Regions from separate parts of the Homo sapiens genome. Here regions 1, 2, 3, 5, 6 and 7 are each linked to region 4. Evidence: promoter capture Hi-C in 16 types of primary human blood cells and fetal thymus (Javierre and others, 2016). All regions are on one chromosome and are shown on one strand. The core of a region is centred on a gene start or on the middle of the fragment in contact, and the rest is flanking DNA. Distances in the headings are between cores, read along the strand shown.

Evidence for each region. The method cuts DNA at HindIII sites, captures the fragments that hold promoters and counts their contacts. A CHiCAGO score of 5 or more calls a contact.
Region 1: a fragment that was not itself captured here is called in contact with the fragment with the promoter of PLAG1 in region 4 in 1 of 17 cell types (activated CD4 T cells); the score reaches 5.9 in activated CD4 T cells.
Region 2: a contact is called between a fragment that was not itself captured here and the fragment with the promoter of PLAG1 in region 4, in 6 of 17 cell types (activated CD4 T cells, naive CD8 T cells, non-activated CD4 T cells and 3 more). The highest score is 10.4, in activated CD4 T cells.
Region 3: a fragment that was not itself captured here is called in contact with the fragment with the promoter of PLAG1 in region 4 in 1 of 17 cell types (non-activated CD4 T cells); the score reaches 5.4 in non-activated CD4 T cells.
Region 5: a fragment that was not itself captured here is called in contact with the fragment with the promoter of PLAG1 in region 4 in 1 of 17 cell types (activated CD4 T cells); the score reaches 5.6 in activated CD4 T cells.
Region 6: a fragment that was not itself captured here is called in contact with the fragment with the promoter of PLAG1 in region 4 in 4 of 17 cell types (total CD4 T cells, naive CD8 T cells, activated CD4 T cells and 1 more); the score reaches 12.5 in total CD4 T cells.
Region 7: the fragment with the promoter of UBXN2B here is called in contact with the fragment with the promoter of PLAG1 in region 4 in 1 of 17 cell types (M2 macrophages); the score reaches 5.0 in M2 macrophages.

The regions. Positions count from the first base shown.
Region 1 is chr8:53,999,933-54,003,135 of GRCh38, forward strand. LYPLA1-TCEA1 (LYPLA1-TCEA1 readthrough) reads right to left here. Exons shown (of 21, transcript NM_001425842.1): 14 at 13-118. It overlaps TCEA1 (transcription elongation factor A1), which reads right to left. Exons shown (of 10, transcript NM_006756.4): 3 at 13-118. Among named protein-coding and RNA genes, the nearest start is that of TCEA1, 21 kb to the right of the region's middle. The HindIII fragment of the contact is 297 bases long and covers 1,376-1,672 here.
Region 2 is chr8:54,094,044-54,097,170 of GRCh38, forward strand. The region is part of intron 2 of LYPLA1-TCEA1 (LYPLA1-TCEA1 readthrough); the gene reads right to left. All of the region lies in intron 2 of LYPLA1 (lysophospholipase 1), which reads right to left. Among named protein-coding and RNA genes, the nearest start is that of LYPLA1, 6.3 kb to the right of the region's middle. The HindIII fragment of the contact is 2,828 bases long and covers 225-3,052 here.
Region 3 is chr8:54,157,706-54,160,757 of GRCh38, forward strand. No RefSeq gene overlaps it. Among named protein-coding and RNA genes, the nearest start is that of MRPL15, 24 kb to the left of the region's middle. The HindIII fragment of the contact is 6,436 bases long and covers 1-3,052 here.
Region 4 is chr8:56,209,655-56,212,792 of GRCh38, forward strand. It overlaps PLAG1 (PLAG1 zinc finger), which reads right to left and starts at 1,619. Exons shown (of 5, transcript NM_002655.3): 1 at 1,467-1,619. It overlaps CHCHD7 (coiled-coil-helix-coiled-coil-helix domain containing 7), which reads left to right and starts at 2,135. Exons shown (of 4, transcript NM_001011671.3): 1 at 2,135-2,183. RefSeq lists silencers at 1,604-2,163, 2,006-2,231 and an enhancer at 2,244-2,313. The HindIII fragment of the contact is 9,849 bases long and covers 1-3,138 here.
Region 5 is chr8:54,051,155-54,054,353 of GRCh38, forward strand. LYPLA1-TCEA1 (LYPLA1-TCEA1 readthrough) reads right to left here. Exons shown (of 21, transcript NM_001425842.1): 7 at 1,501-1,602; 8 at 1-34. LYPLA1 (lysophospholipase 1) reads right to left here. Exons shown (of 9, transcript NM_006330.4): 7 at 1,501-1,602; 8 at 1-34. Among named protein-coding and RNA genes, the nearest start is that of TCEA1, 30 kb to the left of the region's middle. The HindIII fragment of the contact is 4,437 bases long and covers 1-3,199 here.
Region 6 is chr8:54,137,522-54,140,536 of GRCh38, forward strand. All of the region lies in intron 3 of MRPL15 (mitochondrial ribosomal protein L15), which reads left to right. Among named protein-coding and RNA genes, the nearest start is that of MRPL15, 3.8 kb to the left of the region's middle. The HindIII fragment of the contact is 2,170 bases long and covers 419-2,588 here.
Region 7 is chr8:58,409,502-58,412,948 of GRCh38, forward strand. UBXN2B (UBX domain protein 2B) reads left to right here and starts at 1,860. Exons shown (of 8, transcript NM_001077619.2): 1 at 1,860-1,968. The coding sequence starts at 1,885. RefSeq lists enhancers at 1,856-1,915, 1,926-1,975, 2,256-2,305. The HindIII fragment of the contact is 12,087 bases long and covers 1-3,447 here.

The DNA of each region.
Region 1 (3,203 bases), core at 274-2,773, 2.2 Mb before region 4:
GATCAATGATACCTAATAATTTTTTCCAGGATTTGATGAGAGACTTTGCCAAAGATGTAACTTCCTCATCTGTACTCTGCTTGCGAATAGCATTAACTGACATTCCGATTCTTGTGGACTGCAAGGCAATAACAAAAAAATTATGTATACCAATTTTATTTTAAACAAATTAGTATTTCACCTACATTCTTTTCTTTCCCAGATTCCTGTTTCTATTTTAGAATTTCAAAACTTCAATTTTTGGATCCTTATAATAGCAAATTATATTAAGATACATACATCTTCAGATCAAACACTAGACTCATTAATGTTCTTATCATCAAGATCTAGAAGCATAAAATTCACTACTGTAATAAGTCTGGTTAACTAGAAAAATGCAATCAATCTTTCCACAAGGGAGAAGTGAAGATAAACGAGGATAAAATATATAATGTTGTATATAAGTCAGGCTGAAGCAATCATGACTAATACATGCATTTCTTTGTTTCTATACATTCCTCTACATGGATTACTTCATAGAGCACCAGCTGCAAATTATTATGAGGATATCCAAACAAAAACTACCACCTATCCAGGTTTAAAAGGCTTTATTTTGCCAGGAACCAGCATATAATCAGAGACATTAAAATGCACTTCACAAAATACAGGTAAAATTTAACCTGTGATAATTACGTGCCTAGAATTATGCTTAGAGCATCCACATTCATCAATCTTTCTAACAACCCTTCAAAGTTGAGATCATCCCTATTTTTAAAGATGAAGAGATTGGAAGTACCAATAAATAACGTGCCCAGCATCACACCATTACCAACCAGCAAAGCTGGGATTTTTTTTTTTTTTTTTTGAGACGGACTCTCACTCTGTCACCCAGGCTGGAGTGCAGTGGGGCACGATATTGGCTCACTGCAACCTCCACCTCCTGGTTCAAGCAATTCTCCTGCCTCAGCCTCCCGAGTAGCTGGGATTACAGGCACATGCCACCTCGCCCGGCTGATTTGTGTATTTTTAGTAGAGACGGACTGCACCACGTTGGCCAGGCTGGTCTCAAACTCTAGACCTCAGGTGATCCACACACCTCAGCCTCCAAAGTGCTGGGATTACAAGCATGAGCCACCGGCCCAGCCAAAAACTGGGATTTTAATCCAGGTTTGTTCACTGCCGAAGTCCATGGTCTTTGTAGCACATTAATGGTTTCAAATTGTGCTCAAAGAACACAAAAGCTATGACAGCCCAAATATGGATGATAAATAAAAAATGGTATATTATTTAGTAAGTTCGGGTTGTTAACAGACAATATTTCAAACATATGGTCTATGGAAGAAAAAAATAACAAAAGGAATTCTTAGTGGTGAAAAAAAAGAGACACCCTATTGTAAGCTTTACGGTAGAAAAATATACGGGTACTTGAGGTTTCCTTCTAAATTATTCAATCCTCTCAACAAACAGATTCAGGATCTAAGTTTTATTCAAGAATTTAGAATATGTGGTTGGCTAGAGTGTCCTATATCTCTTAGAAAGCTGAGCAAAACAGACAAGATTGAACAGCAGAAAGATAAAGGGACTCCACAATTTTAAAGCCCCAAACAATTTGGGGTTAACAAGGCTAGTTTACTAGGAAAAAAACTCCACTTTTTGAATGTGTAGAGGAAATAACTTATTAGTGTGGTTCTGAAGCTTAGAACTGACACAAACGTGCAAAAAAATAAAATGGCACTTTACTAGGGGCTTGCAGGAGAGCAAAGGTGTAAGGAGATGATGAATTGTGTACTGCTGGGTGATTGCTTTTTAATTATCAGAGGATGTTTTGATTACTAAAAAGTCAATGATTATCCCGCTTAGCCTCAAACAAAACCTATACTGAGAATATAGTTATCTTGTAATAAACATGCTTATCTATGGAAGAGATTGTCAAGCCAAAATAATAAGAAATGAGGGGCACGGTGGCTCACACCTGTAATCCCAGCACTTTGGGAGGCTGAGGCGGGCGGCTCACGAAGTCAGGAGTTTGAGACCAGCCTGGCCAATATAGTAAAACTGTCTCTACTAAAAAAAAAAAACAAAAAACAAACAAACAAACAAAAAACAAATTAGCTGGGCGTGGTGGCAAGCGCCTGTAGTCCCAGCTACTCGGGAGGCTGAGACAGAAGAATCACTTGAACCCAGAAGGCAGAAGTTGCAGCGAGCCACGATCACACCACTGCGCTCCAGCTTCCAGCCTGGGCGACAGAGCAAGACTGTCTCCAAAAAGAAAAAAAAAGGGCGGGTATGGTGGCTCACGCCTGTAATCCCAGCACTCTGGGAGGCCGAGGTGGGTGGATCACGAGGTCGGGAGATTAAGACCATCCTGGCTGACACGGTGAAACCCCATCTTTAAAAAGTACAAAAAATTAGCTGGGCATGGTGGCACGCACCTGTAGTCCCAGCTACTTGGGAGACTAAGGCAGGAGAATTGCTTGAACCCGGGAGGTAGAGGTTGCAGTGAGCCGAGATTGCACCACTGCACTCCAGCCTGGGTAACAGAACAAGACTCCGTCTCAAAAAAAAAAAGAAAAAAAAGAAATGAAGCTGCTGAGGTAGAATGAAAAACAAAGATTTGAAATAAGTTTTTCTTTTTTCCTTTGGGGGTACCATGGAAAAAATGAAAAAAAAAAAAAGTAGAGGAAAAGATTATGAAGCTATTTACTTGGATAAGCAAGTCTGAAGTTGACTCTATGAATTCCCTAGAGATTTTTCCTAAAATTGGTATGCTAAGACTTACAAGATGTAATAGATAGGTTATACGAAAGTATTCTGTGCTCAAGTGACCTTAGGAATTGTGGGATTATAACTGTTTTCTTGACTGCAGGACTAATGAAAGCTTTCAGGACAAACTATACATCGTGAAACTCTAGCAGATAAAATATGTGCCTTTGCCTATGATTTCTATAGAACATCAGGTATACAGAAAGAAAGACATTACCTTGGAAAGGTGGAGAGTGCATTAAGCAGCCTTAGGGGTCAGCTGCACACTGATGGAAAAGCAGAAAGGAATGAGTACTGAGATCAAGAGACACTGTTAACATCACAGGAAACAAGCAGATTTGGTGTGCTCCAGAAGAAAAGTCTCCTTTGTGATCACTCATGAGTTTTTGCCAAGATGATCTCAAGGTAGCCACTAAATCTTAAGGTAAAAAACATATAGCTACTGTACAGCTACTATAAAA
Region 2 (3,127 bases), core at 389-2,888, 2.1 Mb before region 4:
AACATATCCATGTTGCCAATTTATTTTAAATCCTCACCTTGTTTGACCTCTCAGTAAAATCTGATCCAGTCAACCACTTATTTTATCTTTCAAACATTCTTCTCTATACTTTTATAATCTCCTTGGTCTAGGAAATGTCACAGGGACTGGTAATACAGATAAGTAATTCCTGGAATACATCGGGGCTGGGGAGTAGCAGGGAGGGGGACACATGAAGAGAACCAAGCTTTCCACCAGGCCTTTCCTCCTCCTCGTTTCCCCTTAATTGGAACTGAGCTTTCAGGTGTGATATTCAGCAGATGGGGAGAGGTCCCATGAATGAAGCATAGCTGTGAGCTGGTGCAACTGGAGGGGCACACTCCACAGTTGCACTGTTGGCCAGAACCCCCCAAGAACAGAAGTCAGGTTCCTCACGGAATTACAAATATGGAAAGGGAGAAGGCTATAATAAACCCTGTGGTGCTGGGCTGCAATTGGAGGAATCATTATAAACTCAAGATTTTGAATACTTATAAATACTAAAACTGATATGTGTGTACATATGTATGTATGTCCATATATTCTTAGCTCTGTCCACTGCAAGGGTCTAGATCTGGGAGCACATATAGCATCCAGATCTCACTGTCTACTAAAAGGAACCAGGGTTCTTGGAAAAATGGCTGAGTCCAGGACTAGAGCAGGAAACATATAAGACAATCCTAGAAAAAGTCTTGTACCATAAAGTGAGGAAGTGATCAAATAAGAATGAGGATATGTCCAAAAGACACCAAGTACCAGCTTGAAAGGGTTACTGTGGCCAACTAAAGGACAATTTGAGCATCAAAATAAATAACTAACTTGATTGTTATCCTCTGAATACAATAGGAATCCAAGAGTCTGTACTGATTTAAAATTTTGAAACAAATGAGTATCTACATAAGTAATAAATAAAGGAGAAAGGAAAGCTCTACCCCACAGTAGACTGCTAAATAATAAATCCAGAATAAAGGAATTTTTTTTTTTTTTGAGACTGAGTCTCACTGTCGCCTAGGCTGGAGTACAGTGGCACCATCTTGGCTCACTGCAACCTCCAGCTCCCAAGTAGATGGGACAACAGGCATGCACCATCCTGTCCAGCTAGTTTTTTAATTTTTAGTAGAGACGAGGTTTCGTCATGTTGGCCAGGCTGGTACTGAACTACTGACCTCAGATGATCCTCCTGCCTCAGCCTCCCAAAGTGCTGGAATTACAGGCATGAGCCACTGCACCCGGCCAGAACAAAGGAAATTTAATTAAAAGACCATATTTTAACTTTAAATATTTAAATATCATAAGATATTCGGCAACTACCACAACAATAGATTCTGGCAATAATCATTAATGGGTGCTAAATCCATGGGTGAACATATGGTGGGGATCAGGAATATGTTATAATATCAAGGTATCTCCCCACAAAATATTTTTTAATATTTTAATTACATATTCAATATTTTAAATATTTCATATGTTATATTTATTATTTTAATGTGGAGAAACCTGGCAGACACCATCTTAACCAAGTGATAAAACACATCAGTAACAACAAAATCATCATGAGGTCTGCCTAATATGATGCACTGTTATGGACACAGCAATACCCCTATAGTGTTACTGTCAAAAAGGTATAAATCACAAAACATCAGATAAACCCAAACTGAGGGACATTCTACAAAGTAACTGGCTTACACTTTTTTTTTTTTTTTTTGGTAGACACAGGGTCTGGCTGTTGCCCAGGCTGGTCTCAAACAGCTGGGCTCAAGCGATTCTCATGCTCAGCTTCCCAAAGCACTGGTATTACCATACCCGGCCTGTATTCTTGACAAAGTGTCAAGGTCATGAAAGACAAGGACTGTTTCAGAATAAAGAAAACTAAAGAGAAATGATAAGTAGAGGCAATATGTGATCCTAGACTGATAAAGGACATTATTGGCTCAAATCAATGAAATGTGAATGGAGCTGGTGGATTAGACCGTAGTATACCATCAGTGTTAACTTCTTAATGATGGTTATACTGGAGTGTCCTGGTACTTAAAAATGTACACTGAAGAATTAAGCTGTAATGAGGCAACACGCCTGCAACTTATTCTTTAATAGTTCAGAAATATTAACAATTGGGTAATTTGGGTGAAAGGTATAAGGAGCTATAAATGTTATTTCTGCAACTTTTATGTAAATTTCAAGTTATTTAAAATGAAAAGTTAAAAAGTTTAAAACATAACAGAATAGAACATAACCTATTAAATAAATCTGAGTCCAGGCATGACACAGTGGTTCATGCCTGTAATTCCAGGGAGGGACTGGGAGGCCGAAGTGGGCAAATCACTTGAGGTCAGGAGTTCGAGACCAGCTTGGCCAACATGGCAAAACCCCGTCTCTACTAAAACTACAAAAATCTGACTGGACACTATGGCTCACGCCTGTAATCCCAGCACTTTGGGAGGCTGAGGAGGGCAGATTACGAGGTCAGGAGTTTGAGATCAGCCTGACCAACATGGTGAAACCCCCCCGTCTCTACTAAAAATACAAAAAAAATTAGCCAGGCGTGGTGGCACGTGCCTGTAATCCCAGCTACTCATGAGGCTGAGGCAGGAGACTCACTTGAACTCAGGAGGCAGAGGTTGCAGTGAGCCAAGATCACGCCACTACACTCCAGCCTGGACGACAGGGCGAGACAAGGTCTCAAAAAAAAAAAAAAAAATTAGCCGGGTGTGGCGGCACGCACCTATAGTCCCAGCTACTTGGGAGGCTGAGGCAGCAGAACTGCTTGAACCTGGGAGGTGGAGGTTCAGTGAGCCGAGATTGCACCACTGCACTCCAGCCTGGCTGGGTGACAGAGCGAGATTCTGTCTCAAAAAATAAACAAATAAATAAATAAATAGAAAATAAATCTGAGTCCATACTAACTAAATGGGGAGTAGCAGATTAATAAACAAAATGGAATGACAAAAAAAAAGGAATGACAGAATTGGAAAATCACACTGTAGAAATGATTGACTCAAGCAATTATCAATGGATGATAAAAATATTGGGTGAAAGCTTGATGAACAACTTGCATAGTCACAAAGTATCCCCCCGCAACTTGCTTTTTAATTACAAAAGGAAAGTAACT
Region 3 (3,052 bases), core at 160-2,659, 2.1 Mb before region 4:
TTTGACTACTTTAGATACCTTATTTAAGTGGAATCAGAAGTATTTGTCCTTCTGTGACTGGCTTATTTCATTTAGCATAATGTCTCATGCTTCATTCATCTTGAGCACCTGTCAGAATTTCCTTCCGTTTTAAGACTGAATAATATTCCATCGTATGTATATACCAGATTCTATTTATTCACTCCTCTGTTGAGGGACATTTGGGTTGTTTCCATCTTTTGGCTGCTGTGGTTGATGTTGCCCTGAACATTGGTTTTCAAGTTTGAGTTCTTGCTTTTTTTTTTTTTGATGGAGTCTCACTCTGTCACCCAGGCTGGAGTGCAGTGGTGCAATCTCGGCTTGCTGCAACCTCCAGCTCCCAGGTTCAAGCGATTCTCCTACCTCAGCCTCCCGAGTAGCTGGGATTACAGGTATGTGCTGCCATGCCCGGCTAATATTTTCTGTGTTTTTCCAGTAGAGATAGGGTTTTACCATGTTGGCCAGGCTGGTCTCGAACTCCTGACCTCAGGTGATCCCCCGACTCGGCCTCCCAAAATGTTGGGATTACAGGCATGAGCCACCGCACCTGGCCATGAATTCTTGCTTTCAATTCTTTTGGGTATATACCTAGGAGTGGAATTGCTGGGTCATATGGTTATTCTATGTTTGAACTGTTTTTTTTTTTTTTTGAGATAGAGTCTCACACTGTTGCCCAGGCTGGAGTGCAAGTGGCTCGATCTCAGCTCACTGCAACCTCTGCCTTCCAAGTTCAAGCAGTTCTCTTGGCTCAGCCTTCAGAGCAGCTGGGATTACAGGTGTGTGCCACCACACCCCGCTAATTTTTATATATTTATTAGAGACAGGGCCTCACTATGTTGGCCAGGCTGATCTCCAACTCCTGACCTCAGATTATCTGCCCTGCTTGGCCTACAAGGCACTGTGCAGATAATTTTCAAATATTTATTTGATTAATCATTCCAAGGCTTGTTTATTGAGTACCTCCTAAGTCCCAAACTCTGGGTCTTCCATGCTGAATAAAATACATGGTCTTTGCCCTCATGCAGTTGATAGTCTAAAAGCAGAGTTGTTCACGCAAATGAATATAAAATTGCAATGAAGATAAGTGCTGGAAATGGTGTTTATGTGGGACACGACTGCATACAAGAAGGTAATCTGATTTAGTAAGTGAAATCAGGGAAGGATTCCTTTAGAAGTGACAAAACAAGGGTTGAGAGTGAGCCCAGTGAGGCGATGAGAGCAATCCTTCTGTGCAAAGGGAGCAGCGTGCATCAGGATGCTGTGCCTGAAGGAAGCATTGCGTTACAGAGATCTCAAAGACCTTTTTGGAACAAAAAAGCAAAGAAAGGCTGTAGGAAACAAGGTAAAAGACATTTCATCTTCACAGAAGTTTTTTAAACCTTGGGGTGAAATTCATATACCATAAAGTTGACAACTGAAAACAATTCAGCAGAATGTCATACATTCTCAGTGTTGTGCAACCACCTCCTCCATCTAGTTCCAAAGCATTTCATCACACCAAAAGGAAACTAATAGCCATTAAGCAGTCTGTATTCATCTCTCCCTGCCTCCAGCCCCTGGGAACTACTAATCTGCTTTCTTTCTCTTTTTTTTTTTTTTTGGAGACGGAGTTTCACTCTTGTCACCCAGGCTGGAGTGCAATGGCGTGATCTCAGCTCGCCGCAACCTCTGCCTCCTGGGTTCAAGCAATTCTCCTGCCTCCTGCCTCAGCCTCCCAAGTAGCTGGGATTACAGGTGCCTGCCACCACGCCCAGCTAATTTTTGTATTATTAGTAAAGATGGGGTTTCACCATGTTGGCCAATTTGGTCTCGAACTCCTGACCTCAGATGATCCACCCGCCTCAGCCTCCCAAAGTGCTAGGATTACAGGCATGAGCCACCACTCCCAGCCTATTAATCTGCTTTCTATCTCTACAGAATTATCTATTTTGGATATGTTATGTAAATGAAATCATACACTATGTGGTCTTTTGTGTCTGGCTTCCTTCACTTAATATATTTTCAAGGTTCATCCAATGTTGTAGCATGAACCAGTACTTCATTCCTTTTGATGGCTAAATAATATTCCATTGCATGTATATATGACAACTGTTTATCCACTCATTTGTTGATGAACATTTGGCCTGTTTCTACCTTTGAGTTATTGTGAATAAAGCTGCTGTGCACATTAGAGTGCAAGAAATGAGTCCCCGGTTTCAGTTATCTAGGGTATATGCTGGGGAATGGAATTACATGGTGATATGGTTTGGCTGTGTCCCCACCAAAATCTCAACTTGAATTTTATCTCCCAGAATTCCCATGCATTGTGGGAGGAACCTAGGGGGAGGTAATTGAATCATGGGGACCAGTCTTTCCCACGATATTCTCATTATAGTGAATAAGTCTCACACGATCTGATGGGTTTATCAGGGGTTTCCGCTTTTGTTTCTTCCTCATTTTTCTCTTGTGGCTGCCATGTAAAAAGTGCCTTTCACCTCCTGCCATGATTCTGCGGCCTCCCCAGCCATGTGGAACTATTAAGTCCAATTAAACCTGTTTTTCTTCTCAGTCTTGGGTATGTCTTTATTAGCAGCGTGAAAATGGACTAATATAGTAAATTGGTACGAGTAGAGTGGGGCGTTGCTGAAAAGATACCTGAAAACGTGGAAGTGACCTTGGAACTGGGTAACAGGGAGAGATTGGAACAGTTTGGAGAGTTCAAAAGAGGATAGGAAAATGTGGGAAAGTTTGGAACCTCCTAGAGACTTGTTGAATGGCTTTGACAAAAATGCTGATAGTGATATGAACAATAAAGTCCGGGCTGAGGTTGTCTCATGGAGATGAGGAACTTGTTGGGAACTGGAGCAAAGGTGACTCTTGTTATGTTTTAGCAAAGAGACTGGCAGCATTTTGCCCCTGCCTGAGAGAATTGTGGAACTTTGAACTTGAAAGAGATAATTTAGGGTATCAGGCAGAAGAAATTTCTAAGCAGCAAAGCATTCAAAAGATACCTTGGGTACTGTTAAAAGCATTCCATTTTAAAAGGGAAACAGAA
Region 4 (3,138 bases), core at 369-2,868:
ATTCTTTAGGAAGGATGAACAGGTGAAGCAAACATGTCAGGAAGGGGGAAACCAAGCAACTCCACATCCCTCCCCAAAAGGTACTCCAGCCTTGCACTCCAGCCTCTCTGAGCACCATCACCTCTCTATCCCTCCTCTGCAGAGCCCAGTTTAAAGAAAGGAGGGAGCCACTAACAAAACCTGAAGCATAAATGCGACGAAAATGCAATCTAAAGCCGGAAAGGTTCATTCTTCCAATCACACATATTAACTCTATTAAGAAAATGGCATCACTTTTTTTTCCACCCAAAAAAACCCCGCAAAGATCATTAAAAGAGAGTTATAAAATAGCAAATATAGTGTTTATCTTATCTGAGATCAGTCCACATTACCAATAAGTTTAGCAGTTTCTGCACTACCACCTCCCCCCTCGCTCCCCCTGCTTCTCTTGCATCGGATTTTCACGTTTTCTCATTGTCGGTTGAGTTATAAAAGGCTTTTGCCCTTCGAAAGTTTTAAAAAATAAATAAATATTAACTCCTTGGTCCCTGCAAAGTCAAAATGGACTTCAGGGGAAAGGCGGTACATACTTTTACCTTTAGCGAGAAAAGGGGGAGCATCCCGGATTTTTAGGGATTTTTTGCGATTTTTTAAAAATTTTTATTTGGTTATATGCCTGAGTTCTCCCTCCATTTTGGTTGTTTATGATACTGACAACAAGCTGTCCCTGCTCTGTGCCGATCTCCTGCTTTCATTTAGCACCCCCTCCCCCTACCCCCCCTCGCAGCCACACACCCCGGGCTCACACCTCCCTGCAGACCCCGCACCCCGACCCCGGCTTGCCCACCTGAGGAAAGGGCAAAAACAAATTCATTTCTCCAGAAAAGAAAAACCTCTTTTGAAAAAGGGGCAAAGTTACCCCAAGTCACTCAAAGTGCCCCCCAAATATTGCCGACTGCGGGTTTCCGCCAGGCCCTTTGGGAAGCGACCTTCCCCCGGGATGTTTTGGTGGAAAATGCGGAGAGTTTACTCTCAAAACTGAATTTATATTAATTTTTCCCTTATTTTTCGGGTCTCTAATGTCTTCCGCTCTCGCTGCTGCCGCTGCCGCTGTCACAATATTCACAGCACCAGAGAGGAGGAGGAGGAGGAGGAGGAGGAAAACTTTTCAAACTTTCCAGACCCTGAATAAAGGTTTTTTTTTTTTTCCCACCGACCTCACCTTCGGGTCCCCAGCCGCATCGCCCCCTGCCCTGTCAGAAGCGACTTCGGGAGTCCTCGCAGCCCCGCGTAATTATTTTATTTTATTTTTTATTATTATTTTTCTCTCTGGGGTCCTGAGCAGGGGCTGAGAGTAGCACAAACTTTTCCTCCTCCTGCCGCCGCCGCTGCTCCTCTGCCCCCTCGGCTAGTCCCATAATTTAAATAACCCTGATATTTCTCCCGCTAAACGCCTCGCCGCCGCCCCGGACCCCCGGAGAACTCACCGCGGGGCTTTAACATCCTCCCTCCGGCCCGTCCGCCGCCTCTACACCGCCCGCGGAATTTCTAATAATTTTTTTCTCATATTTCGGGCTGGACGCGGCGGGCCTGGAAATTGTTTCCTTACGCCTCTTTCCAGCAGCCATTGTAGTGTATGCGCTGCCCCTGCAGCCCAACTTGCAGCTGCCGCCGCCGCCGCCGCCGCCGCCGCCGACGTCGCGCCCACCGCTGCCTCCCCCTGCCTGTTCGGCCACCGCCCCCGCCTCCCGTCGGCCCGCCCCCAAACCCCGCCCGCCGCTGCGCCCGCCCCCCGCGCGCGCTCCGCCCGAGAGCTGGCCACTCGGAGCCGCCGCTGGCGGGAGTTGGCCCGCCCATTGGGCCGCGACGCCGCCCGTCAAGCCGAAGTGTTAAGAGACGGGCCGCGGCTGGGGGGCGCGGTGGGGCGGGGGAAGAGGGGGCGGGGTCGCGCTCACCGCCCCGCCCACTCCTCCCGCCTCGGCCCTCCTTTCGCCAGGCGGGGGCGGGGCGAGGCCCGACCGCCCCTGCGGCCCAGGGCCCCGCGCGGCTGTCAGTCTGGCGGCGGCGCGCGCCGATTGGGCGGGCTGCCGCCGGGGAGCGGGGGCAGCAAGTTGGGATGCGCGCTACTTAAGGTCCTGCTGCGTGAGCCATTGACGTGTTTGGAGCTGGAGACGGCCTGGGTGCTGGCGAAGCGGAGGCCGGAGGTGAGTGGTTCCCCCGCCCTACCTCCGAAGCGGCCGCAGAAAAGCGGGGAGAGAGGGGTGCCCTTGGGCCGTAGCGGGGCCCGAATGCACTTCTGCGGCGCGGAGGCGCTCCCGCCAGGCTTCGCCGCAGCGCGGACCTCTTCCCGTTGCTCTTCCTCCCGCCACACGGGTCTGTTCGCTCCGGGGGCGAGGAAGATGACCTCTGCCTAGTCCGGGCAACCCCAGCTCTTCTTCCACTCTCCTGTGTAGCCTCTGAAGCGCAGTTACCGGCCCCACCCCCAGTTCCCTGCGTTTTCCTCGCCCCTTGTCTCTCTCGGCATGGTCTCGGCACAGCAAGGTGTGTTCACCTGTGCGCGCCGTCCAGGATCAGATGCTGACGGGCTACACCGCGGAAGGCGGCGAGGCCTCGGGTTCGCCCTTCGTTTCTCCTTGCCCTGCGCGCCCACCTCCGGCAGGCCACCCTTGACTTCTTGCCCCCTTCCACTTTGCACCTGGCAGTGGGTTAACGGCACGGCGTGTGCAGCTTCCGGGTTTAGCAGAGCCGCGGACCCTGCCTGGGCTCCGACCACGGGGCGTGTGGGCATGAACGTGTTCAGAAACGTTTCCTTCCCCCTGCCCTTTCAAAGCTACTTAGAGAGGGGGGACGTGAACCACTGGATGGGAAATCAGGAACTGCTTTATTAAGCAGTTTGCCCTTTGGAGTGGATTTTAGAGTTATCCCCTGAATGTGCTATGGTTTTGTGGCCCCTCCTTCATATCTTTGCTTGGTTTTTCTTTCTGGTTATGCTCTGCAAGTAGTAGAGCCTTGTAACATTTATTTAGTACATTCAAAAAGTAATAGACAAGGCCCCTTTAGCGGAGCACTCGATGTTGTAATTCAGCCCCGCTCCTCACTGTAAATTGACATTTCCTCTTCAATTCCAGTTAATACACGAGGAACTCATGCAAAGGAGGG
Region 5 (3,199 bases), core at 503-3,002, 2.2 Mb before region 4:
TAGAAATATCTCTATTAGCACCACCGATAGGACCCTGCAAAAAGCAAAAGAAGAAATAGTTTTATTTTTGTAAAAGTATAGGACACTATGCCAGGCATTTAAAATTGTACATAAATATGCATATATATAACATATTAGAAGTTACATTTGGCCAAAAAAATAAAATTCCTTCATCCATATACTCACCACATCCCTTTGACTTCTATAGGATGTATGATCACCTTGCCTCATATTATAATATATATCTTCCCAGTGAATGAGTTCCTTGAAGCAGATTATATATACATTTTTTTGTTTCGTTTAGTTTTTTTGAGACGGAGTCTTGCTCTGTTGCCCAGGCTGGAGTGCAGTGGCGTGATCTCAGCTCACTGCAACCTCTGCCTCCCAGGTTCAAGCAATTCTCCTGCCTCAGCCTCCCAAGTAGCTGGGATTACAGGCACGTGCCACCACGCCCAGCTAATTTTTTTGTATTTTTTAGTAGAGACAGGGTTTCACTGTGTTACCCAGGATGGTCTCAATCTCCTGACCTTGTGATCCACCTGCCTTGGCCTCCGAAAGTGCTGGGATTACAGGCGTGAGCCACTGCACCCAGCCAAGCAGATTATATTTTAATCCATCTTTATATTTTCAGCTTTTTTTTGTTTGTTTGGTTGGTTGTTTTAGTATTTTGAGTTGCTGTTTTATTCAGCTATCTTTTTTTTTTTTTTTCCCCCAAAGACAGAGTCTTGCTCTGTTACCCAGGCTGGAGTGAAGTGGCACAATCGTGGCTCACTGCAACTTCCACCTCCTGGGTTCAAGTGATTCTCATGCCTCAGCCTCCTGAGTAGCTGGGATTATAGGTGTGCACCACGACGCCCAGCTAATTTCTGTATTTTTAGTAGCCATGGGGTTTCACCATGTTGGCCAGGCTGGTCTTGAACTCCTGACCTGAGGTAATCCACCCGCCTCAGCCTCCCAAAGTGCTGGGATTACAGGCATGAGCCACCGCACCTGGTCTAAAAATAAGTATGATTTCTATATGTTAAAAAAAGTCCTAATTTTCATATATATCCTAAAATGTATCAAATCCTTCTAATATAAGATTTGTGACAATAAGGTTTCTTTCTAATTCCATTCTATGTACTCCACAATACAGACAGTATAGCGTACAGAAATAAGGCCTAGTAATACATCACAAAAGTCTAAGAAAATTATTTTTAAAAAAGGATGAGTGCTGTAAGTGGAGGACTTGGTGATGGTGATGTGTCAGTGCAGCATTACTGACTGCAGCAAAAACATGGCTGTGGAGGTGGGGATGCTGATGGTGGGGAGGCTGTGCATGTGTGGGGACAGGAGGTAGATAGTAACTCTGTACCTTCTGCTCAGTTTTGCTGTGAATTTAGAACTTCTCCAAAAAATAAAGTTTATTAATAAAAAAAAATAAGATGACTTTATCTCCAACAATATCTACTAGCTACCTTTAGCTCAGTAATCTCATGTTGAGTGCATCAACCAAGTTACCTGTGGAAAGGAAGCCCGAAGTGGAAGCCAGCAACTGAGTGCAGTGACACCTGCCAGTTTCTGCTGTGTGGTAAGGGCAGTATATAAAGATAAAGCTCCTCCCTGAAAAGACAAGCAGGGAAAGTCAATGGAACACACATGCTTGCCCACAGCAATTTAGGGAATATCTTGTTACTAATGATATCCATAAAAAAATCAAACTTGGTGGCTGGTGTCAAATCAAATCAGGCAAATATCGGAAATACAAACACACCCCACCGTGTCCTAAAGGATGCGGTTCTCTACACCAGAGAACATACAGACTTCCTTTCCGACGAGACATAGTTTGTACCATGGGAAACTGCTGCACTTACAACATGCCTTACGAATATTCTGAATTTATATTTTCTCCTTTGCAGAATTTTAGGCATAAAATCCAATCTGCTCTTAAATTGGTATTACTTTTTTTTTTTTTTTTGAGATGGAGTTTCACTCTTGTTGCCCAGGCTGGAGAGTAATGGTGCAATCTTGGCTCACCACAACCTCCGCCTCCTGAGTTCAAGCGATTCTCCTGCCTCAGCCTCCCGAGTAGCTGGGATTACAGGCATGCACCACCACACCCGGCTAATTTTGTATTTTTGGTAGAGACGGGGTTTCTCCATGTTGGTTAGGCTGGTCTCAAACTCCCGACCTCAGGTGATCCACGCGCCTCAGCCTCCCAAAGTGTTGGGATTACAGGTGTGAGCCACCGTGCCTGGCCCTTAAATTGGTATTACTTTCTAAATGAGAATTTAAGATAATAATAACTATTTAGCAGACACCTTCAGAGTATCTGCCTACCCAGCTCACAACATCCCACATTCTGGAAGCTGTACTCCTGCCAGCATCCAGAAGCCCCATCACTCTGACCATGCCCATGGGTTACTGCAACACATGAGTACACGAGAGCCTTTCACATCCCAGGCAGTGATGTTTTCTCCTGGCACTGTGGAAATGGGATTCGATGACCACCAGTCACTCTCTGTGTGGCTACACCTGTAACATGTAAATTCAAGAGCTGGAAAAGCTATAGGCTGCAAAAGCCAAGATGGCCAATTGTTTATGGAAAGGTAAATGAAACAGACAAGCAAAGAAACAAGAGATGAGAGATGGTGAGCAAGGCCCAACTGCTTTTCAATTTCTAGCTACTTCCTGAGGCCTTGCCTCATTTTCCTCCTCAGTTTCCTTGATAGGATGCCACAGACTCATTGCTTACTCCTTGCTTGAGGTATTGAGTTGGTTTCTATATACTGTAATGAATGAATATCAAATATACAGACTCCCACATGAACTTGTTATTCTGGATCATTATTATTATTATTTTTGAGACAGAGTCTCAGCTCTGTTGCCCAGGCTGGAGTATAGTGGTGCGATCTTGGCTCACTGCAACCTCTGGCTCCTGGGTTCAAGTGATTTTCCTGCTTCAGCCTCCGGAGTAGCTGGAGTTACAGAGGCGTGCACCACTATGCCCGGCTAATTTTTGTATTTTTAGTAGAGACAGGGTTTCACCATGTTGGCTGGGCTGGTCTCGAACTCCTGACCTCAAGTGATCCACCCACCTTGGCCTCCCAAAGTGCTGGGATTACAGGCGTGAGCCACCGTGCCTGGCCTGGATCATTAATTTCTGTCCCTATGTTTATGTCACAATGTGTATTACAATATACATTATCTGTGAATTTCA
Region 6 (3,015 bases), core at 254-2,753, 2.1 Mb before region 4:
GGCGCAATCTCGGCTCCTGCAACCTCCACCTCACAAGTTCAAGTGATTCTCCTGCCTCAGCCTCCTGAATAGCTGGGATTACAGGCACCCACCACCATGCCCAGCTAATTTTATTTGTTTTTAGTAGAGACAGGGTTTCACTATGTTGGCCAGGCTGATCTTGAACTCCTGACCTTAAGTGATCTGCTCACCTCGGCCTCCCAAAGTGCTGGAATTACAGGTGTGAGCCACCATGCCTGGCCCGTAGGAGATATTTTTGATTTCCAGATAATCAGTACTCTACCCCCTTTATTTTTAGCCCATTTGTGTTTATAACTGTTATGTAGTGGTGATAGCTGTGGTTTTGGAAAGCTGTCATACTATCATGGCAGGGCTCTGTCCCTTGGTCCTGGAATGCTGCTCTTCTGCATATCTGTAAAGCTTGCCTTCTTTTTTTTTTGTTTTTGTTTTTGAGATGGAGTCTCGCTCTGTTGCCCAGGCTGGAGTGCAGTGGCACGATCTCGGCTCACTGCAACCTCTGCCTCCTGGGTTCAAGAAATTCTCCTGCCTCAGCCTCCTGAGTAGCTGGGACTATAGTCGTGCGCCACCACACCCGGCTAATTTTTTATATTTTTAGTAGAGATGGAGTTTCGCCATATTGGCCAAGCTGGTCTTGAACACCTGACCTCGTGATCCACCCACCTTGGCCTCCCAAAGTGCTGGGATTACAGGCGTGAGCCACCGCCCACGGCGCCCCCTTCTTTTGGTTCTCTGCTTGAATGTCAACATATCAGGAAGATCTTTTTTTTTTTTTTTTTTTTTTTTTTTTAAATAGAGATGGAGTCTCACTCTGTCTCCCAGGCTGGAGTACAATGGCGCGATCTCAGCTCACTGCCAACCTCTGCTGCCCAGGTTCAAGCTATTCTCGTGCCTCAGCCTCCTGAGTAGGTGGGACTACAGGTGCGTGCCACCACGTCTGGCTAATTTTTTTTATTTTTAGTAGAGGTGGGGTTTTGCTATGTTGGCCAGGCTGTTCTCGAACTCCTGACCTCAGGTGATCTGCCCGCCTCAGCTTCCCAAAGTGCTGGGATTACAGATGTGAGCCACCCCGCCTGGCCAGGAAGGTCTTTTTTGAGAGTCTTTTTAAAAGAGCACTTGCCCTGCTTCAGGAGTCACAGTGTTTCCTTTACTCTGCCCAAAGTATTTTTCTTTGAATATATATGAGCACTTGACATTTATTACCAAGTTATGCATTTGTTTTCATTGTCTTCCTCACTAGAATATAAGCTCCCTTGAGGGCAGGTGCTTTGATTCATTGCTTTACTTTCTTCTTTATTTTTTTTGAGACAGTATCTCACTCTGTGGCCCAGGCTGGAGTACAGTGGTGTCATCTCAGCTCACTGCAACCTCTTGTCTCCTGAGTTCAAGTGATTCTTCTGCCTTAGCTTCCCAAGTAGCTGGGATTACAGGCACCTGCCACCAGGCCCAGCTAATTTTCTGCTTTTTTTTTGTTTTTGGAGATGGAGTCTCACTCTGTCACCCAGGCTGGAGTGCAGTGGCACGATCTCGGCTCACTGCGATCTCCACCTCCCGGGTTCAAGCGATTCTCTTGTCTTAGCCTTCCAAGTAGCTGGGATTACAGGCATGTGCCACCATGCCAGGCTAATTTTGTATTTTTAGTAGAGACAGGGTTTCACCGTGTTGGTTAGGCTGGTCTTGAACTCCTGACCTCAGGTGATCCGCCTGCCTCGGCCTCCCAAAGTGCTGGGATTACAGACGTGAGCTACCCGTCGGCCAAATTTTTTGTACATTGTTAATCAACTACTGTTTGCCAATAATACAGTTGTATAAGTAAGTTAGTGTCCACTAGAGGGAAGCATATATTTATGAAAAAACCTTTCAGATTCTTTTGAAAAAGTGAACTGTATGGATAAAAACTTTCCAAATAAAGTAATTTGAAAAGAGAATACCAAATACAAGATTAAGCCTCAGTATTCTACCCTGAGTGTATATAAAGAAATACACATGTAACTTAACATATGGAAATCCATGACCTTATCAGCCCTTAAACTGCACATCCCAACATCCTTAGGTGTTGTCTATTAGATTAATAAAAATAACCCTGAAAACTTTACCCCAGGGCACTGGTCAAGTAATTGCAATGACACATTATTTATAGCTCTGTTAACTGATTTACTTCTGTGATTTCAGATTTGTAGTAAATAGTGAATAATAAGACAGTTTTGATCCTTTAGCACAAAATTATCAATTTGGAAACATGTTCTCAAGGAAAAGCAAAATGAAAGAAACCTGATATAAAGATAGTCCTAAAAATGCTATTTATACTACTGAAAATACTGGAACTGACACCAATGCCCCCAAATAGGGAGATGGTTAAGCAAACTATGGATTGCTTAAAAATCACAAATGATACAGCAAGACCCTGTTTTATTGAATCAAAGGTACTGTTGATTTTAAACATATACCAGTATTGGATATAAAAAAAGTGTGAAAATGCATCTTAGAATTGATGGAATATTTTTGAAATACATGAAAAATTAATAATAGAAGGAGCTAAACTGGGAGCCACTTTCTTTCAGCTTCATGAAAGCTTTCTATTGCCATAGAGTGGTAATGCTGCCATCTTTTTGCTTTTATCAGAATCTGCTTTGAAATTAGAGAAAAATATAGCACATCCTGACTGTGACCAAAAATTTAACGTTTCAGAGTTCAGAGCTACATTTTCCTTTTTTTTCTGTCTTTTTTATTTTTTTTGAGATGGAGTCTCGCTCTGTTGCCCAGGCTGCAGTGCAATGGCACAATCTCGACTCACTGCAACCTTCACCTCCACCTTGGGTTTAAGCCATTCTCCTGCCTCAGCCTCCCGAGTAGCTGGGATTACAGGCACATGCCACCATGCCCGGCTACATTTTGTATTTTTTAGTAGAGATGGGGTTTTACCATGTTGGCCAGGCTGGTTTCAAACTCCAGACATCAAGTACTCCGCCCTCCTTGGCCTCCCGAAGTGCTAGGATT
Region 7 (3,447 bases), core at 610-3,109, 2.2 Mb after region 4:
GGAAGAAAAGGTCAGAGTGCTCTTCTTGCACCTGCTGTTTATCAAATGCTTTTTTTTGTTTTTTGTTTTTTGTTTTTAAGACGGAGTCTCTCTGTGACACCCAGGCTGAAGTGCAATGGTGCATCTCTGCTCACTGCAACCTCTGCTTCCCGGGTTCAAGCAATTCACCTGTCTCAGCCTCCCAAGTAGCTGGGACTACAGGCACGCGCCACCACGCCCAGCTAATTTTTGTATTTTTAGTAGAGACAGGATTTCACCACGTTGGCCAGGCTGGTCTGAAACTCCTGACCTCAAGTGATCCGTCTGCCTCGGCCTCCCAAAGAGTTGGGATTACAGGCGTCAGCCACGACGCCCAGCCTCAAATGCCTTTATACATCAAAACGATCAGTATGCCAAAGCTCGGGCGGCAAGCTGTCGACTCCAGCACCTAGCATGGTGCACACAGCAGATACCAACGGAGTATTTCCCCTCACATGGCTCACATTTCCTTTGTAACCCTCCCAAGCAAAGCTCTACTGCAAGCTGCATCTTACCCGTTTACATGTCTCTTTTCCCTACTAGACTGAGTTTCATAATGACTGGGACTATTTCTTTTTACCTTTGCATCCCTTGGGCATAAAAGTGCCTAGGAGGCCAGGCGCAGTGGCTCACGCCTGTAATCCCAGCACTTTGGGAGGCCGAGGTGGGCAGATCATGAGGTCAGGAGATCAAGACCATCCTGGCCAACATGGTGAAACCCCGTCTTTACTAAAAATACAAAAGTTAGCCGGGCATGGCGGCACGCACCTGTAGTCCAAGCTACTCGGGAGGCTGAGGCAGGAGAATTGCTTGAACCCGGGAGGTGGAGGCTGCAGTGAGCCGAGGTCGCGCCACTGCACTCCAGCTTGGGCGACAGAGCGAGGCTCCGTCTCAAAAACAAAAAGTGCCTAGGATAAGAAGACCAGAGTCTAAATCAATTTCAGTTGAATGACGAGGGCTTGATAGTCTCGAGATCTGCTTTTTTTCTTTTTTGAGACGGATCCTCCCTGTGTCGCCAGGCTGGAGTGCAGTGGCGCGATCTCGGCTCACTGCAACCTCCGACTCCCTGATTCAAGCGATTCTCCTGCCTCAGTCTCCCCAGTAGCTCGGACTACAGGCACGCTCCGCCACGCCCAGCTAATTTTTGTGTATATATATATATATATATGTGTATATATATGTATATATATGTGTATATATATATGTGTGTGTATATATGTGTATATATATATGTGTGTGTATATATATATATATATATATATATATATATATTTTTTTTTTTAGTAGAGAAGGGGTTTCACCATGTTGGCCAGGATGGTCTCGATCACCTCGTCCGCCTCGGCCTCCCAAAGTGCTGGGACTACAGGCGTGAGCCACAGGCCCGGCAGAGTTCTGCTTTTAGCAAATTATTCCAAGCACTTTTTACGGTGTTTTTCACTCTCAGTGCTAATTCACGCTGTGGTGACGATGTACCATCCAATCCTTGATAGGAAAGATCAGAGAATCTGACCAAGACTAGATGGAGAGGTTGCAATTTTTCATCAGATGAAAAATCCAGAGGATGTTTTCATTGTTGAGCTAAATGAATCTGCAAGTCTATGCTGCCCTCTAGGGCGGCCTACAGTGCCTTTAGGCGAGTAGCAGGAGCAACACAAAACTTAACAGAGGTTTCCCTGCGGAGAAACTCCCTTTAAGAAAAAAGGAGAAACCAAAAAGGTGGGCCAGCACCGGAAGCGGGGGCGCGGGTTCGGGTAGCGGGGACGCGCACGCACCTTGCGCGTCTTCGCCCCTCCTGCGGTTGCCAGGCAACCGGCCCCGGAAGTTGCGGCAGGTGCGTCCGCAGCGGGCGCCGCTAGCCAGCGGAAGATGGCGGAGGGCGGAGGCCCTGAGCCCGGCGAGCAGGAGAGGAGGTCTTCCGGGCCGCGGCCTCCGAGCGCGCGGGATTTGCAGGTGAGGCGAGGAGCCGGGGGAGGGAGCGCGGCGGTGGACGCGGGCTGGTGACGGCGCGGGCTGGTGCGAGTTGGAGGCCACCTCTGGCCTCGGCGGAGCCTTTCCCCGACCCCGTCTGGGGATAGAATCCGGCGCCCGGTCTCCCGATGTCGGGTCTTGACACTGTGGTGGTCGTGAACACAAGTGCCCAAGCCTCCAGCGCTGGTGCTTTGTCTCCCTTCCACCCCACGTATGATGTAAAAATAGCTATTCGTTTAGAATGACATTTTGCGGGGTCAGTTGGTCGGTTCACGGGTTGATGCTTCCTTCTTGAGACTTACTCCAGAAGAAAGGTTACTGTGGCCGCAGGGAAGTAGACAGTCACCTGAACAGTAATGATACGTGATTTGTTCTTTTTTGTCTTGGATGCTATTTCTGACTTGCTTACTTAAATATAAAAATGGTTCCATTTTATCAGGTAGGTTTTTCTTTTAAAGGGGTGAAGGAAAGCGATGCACTCTATGCCCATACAGCCTAGTTGTCTAAGCTGTGGTCTTTAAAACATTGCACTGAAGAAACTGGGAAATAAAATTTCGTAATGTTGTGTAGGACACTAGTATTAGTTAGCTAAATAGTAGCGCACCAAATCCCGTTTTATCAGATACTAACGCCACTTTTCTCATTTTAGGCGTTTTTGTGTCTCATTATAAGATTATTGATAAAAATTTGACAAGTAAATATCAGTAAGGAGATACTAAGGAGAATCTTGGTAGAACAGTTTTACTGTATTACTTTACAACCACACTTCATTCTAATGTGAACAAACCACCATCCATTGTAACATACTGCTGAGCTTTGCGAATGTGGAAATAAGGACATCAAATCCTTAGTCGGTGCTGAACTCTATTGATGGGTAGGTATGTAAGTGTAAAAGACAGTTCTACCTTTTGGAAGCCTACAGATTTCTTCGGAGAAATAGGGTATGAATACTTAGCATAACATTTTAAGATGGAGTATGATTGGGTGCCAAAATAAGCAGTGCATAAAGCGAAGAATTTGGAGGCTGGAGAGATCAGTGTAACATTAGGAGGTGAACTTAATGTAGAATAGTTCCAGCTCCCATAGTTGGTTCAGTAGTAGTAAACAGTATCAAGGGATAGGAAGCTATTGTGTACCTCATCTTTCCTATTATAAACCCACATCACTAAGAGGCAGCATGGAGTTAGTAGTCCCACCAATTTTGGTTTGCCTCTTAGTCCTGCTACTTAGTAGTTTTGTGAACTTAGGAGAAATGTCTTAACCTGTCTGATCCTGTGTCTTCATTTGTAAACTGAGGAAGGTCAGGGTGCTGGTGGTGGTGTAAGGATTAAATAATGTTATAAAGGGCCTATGCAAAATTCCTACATTATCCTGGCTCAGTTGTTGCTGGGCAAATATTTGATTCCTTTTTCCTCAGGAGAAAGATGCTATAACTTTCCCTGGCTAGTCAATTCTAATATC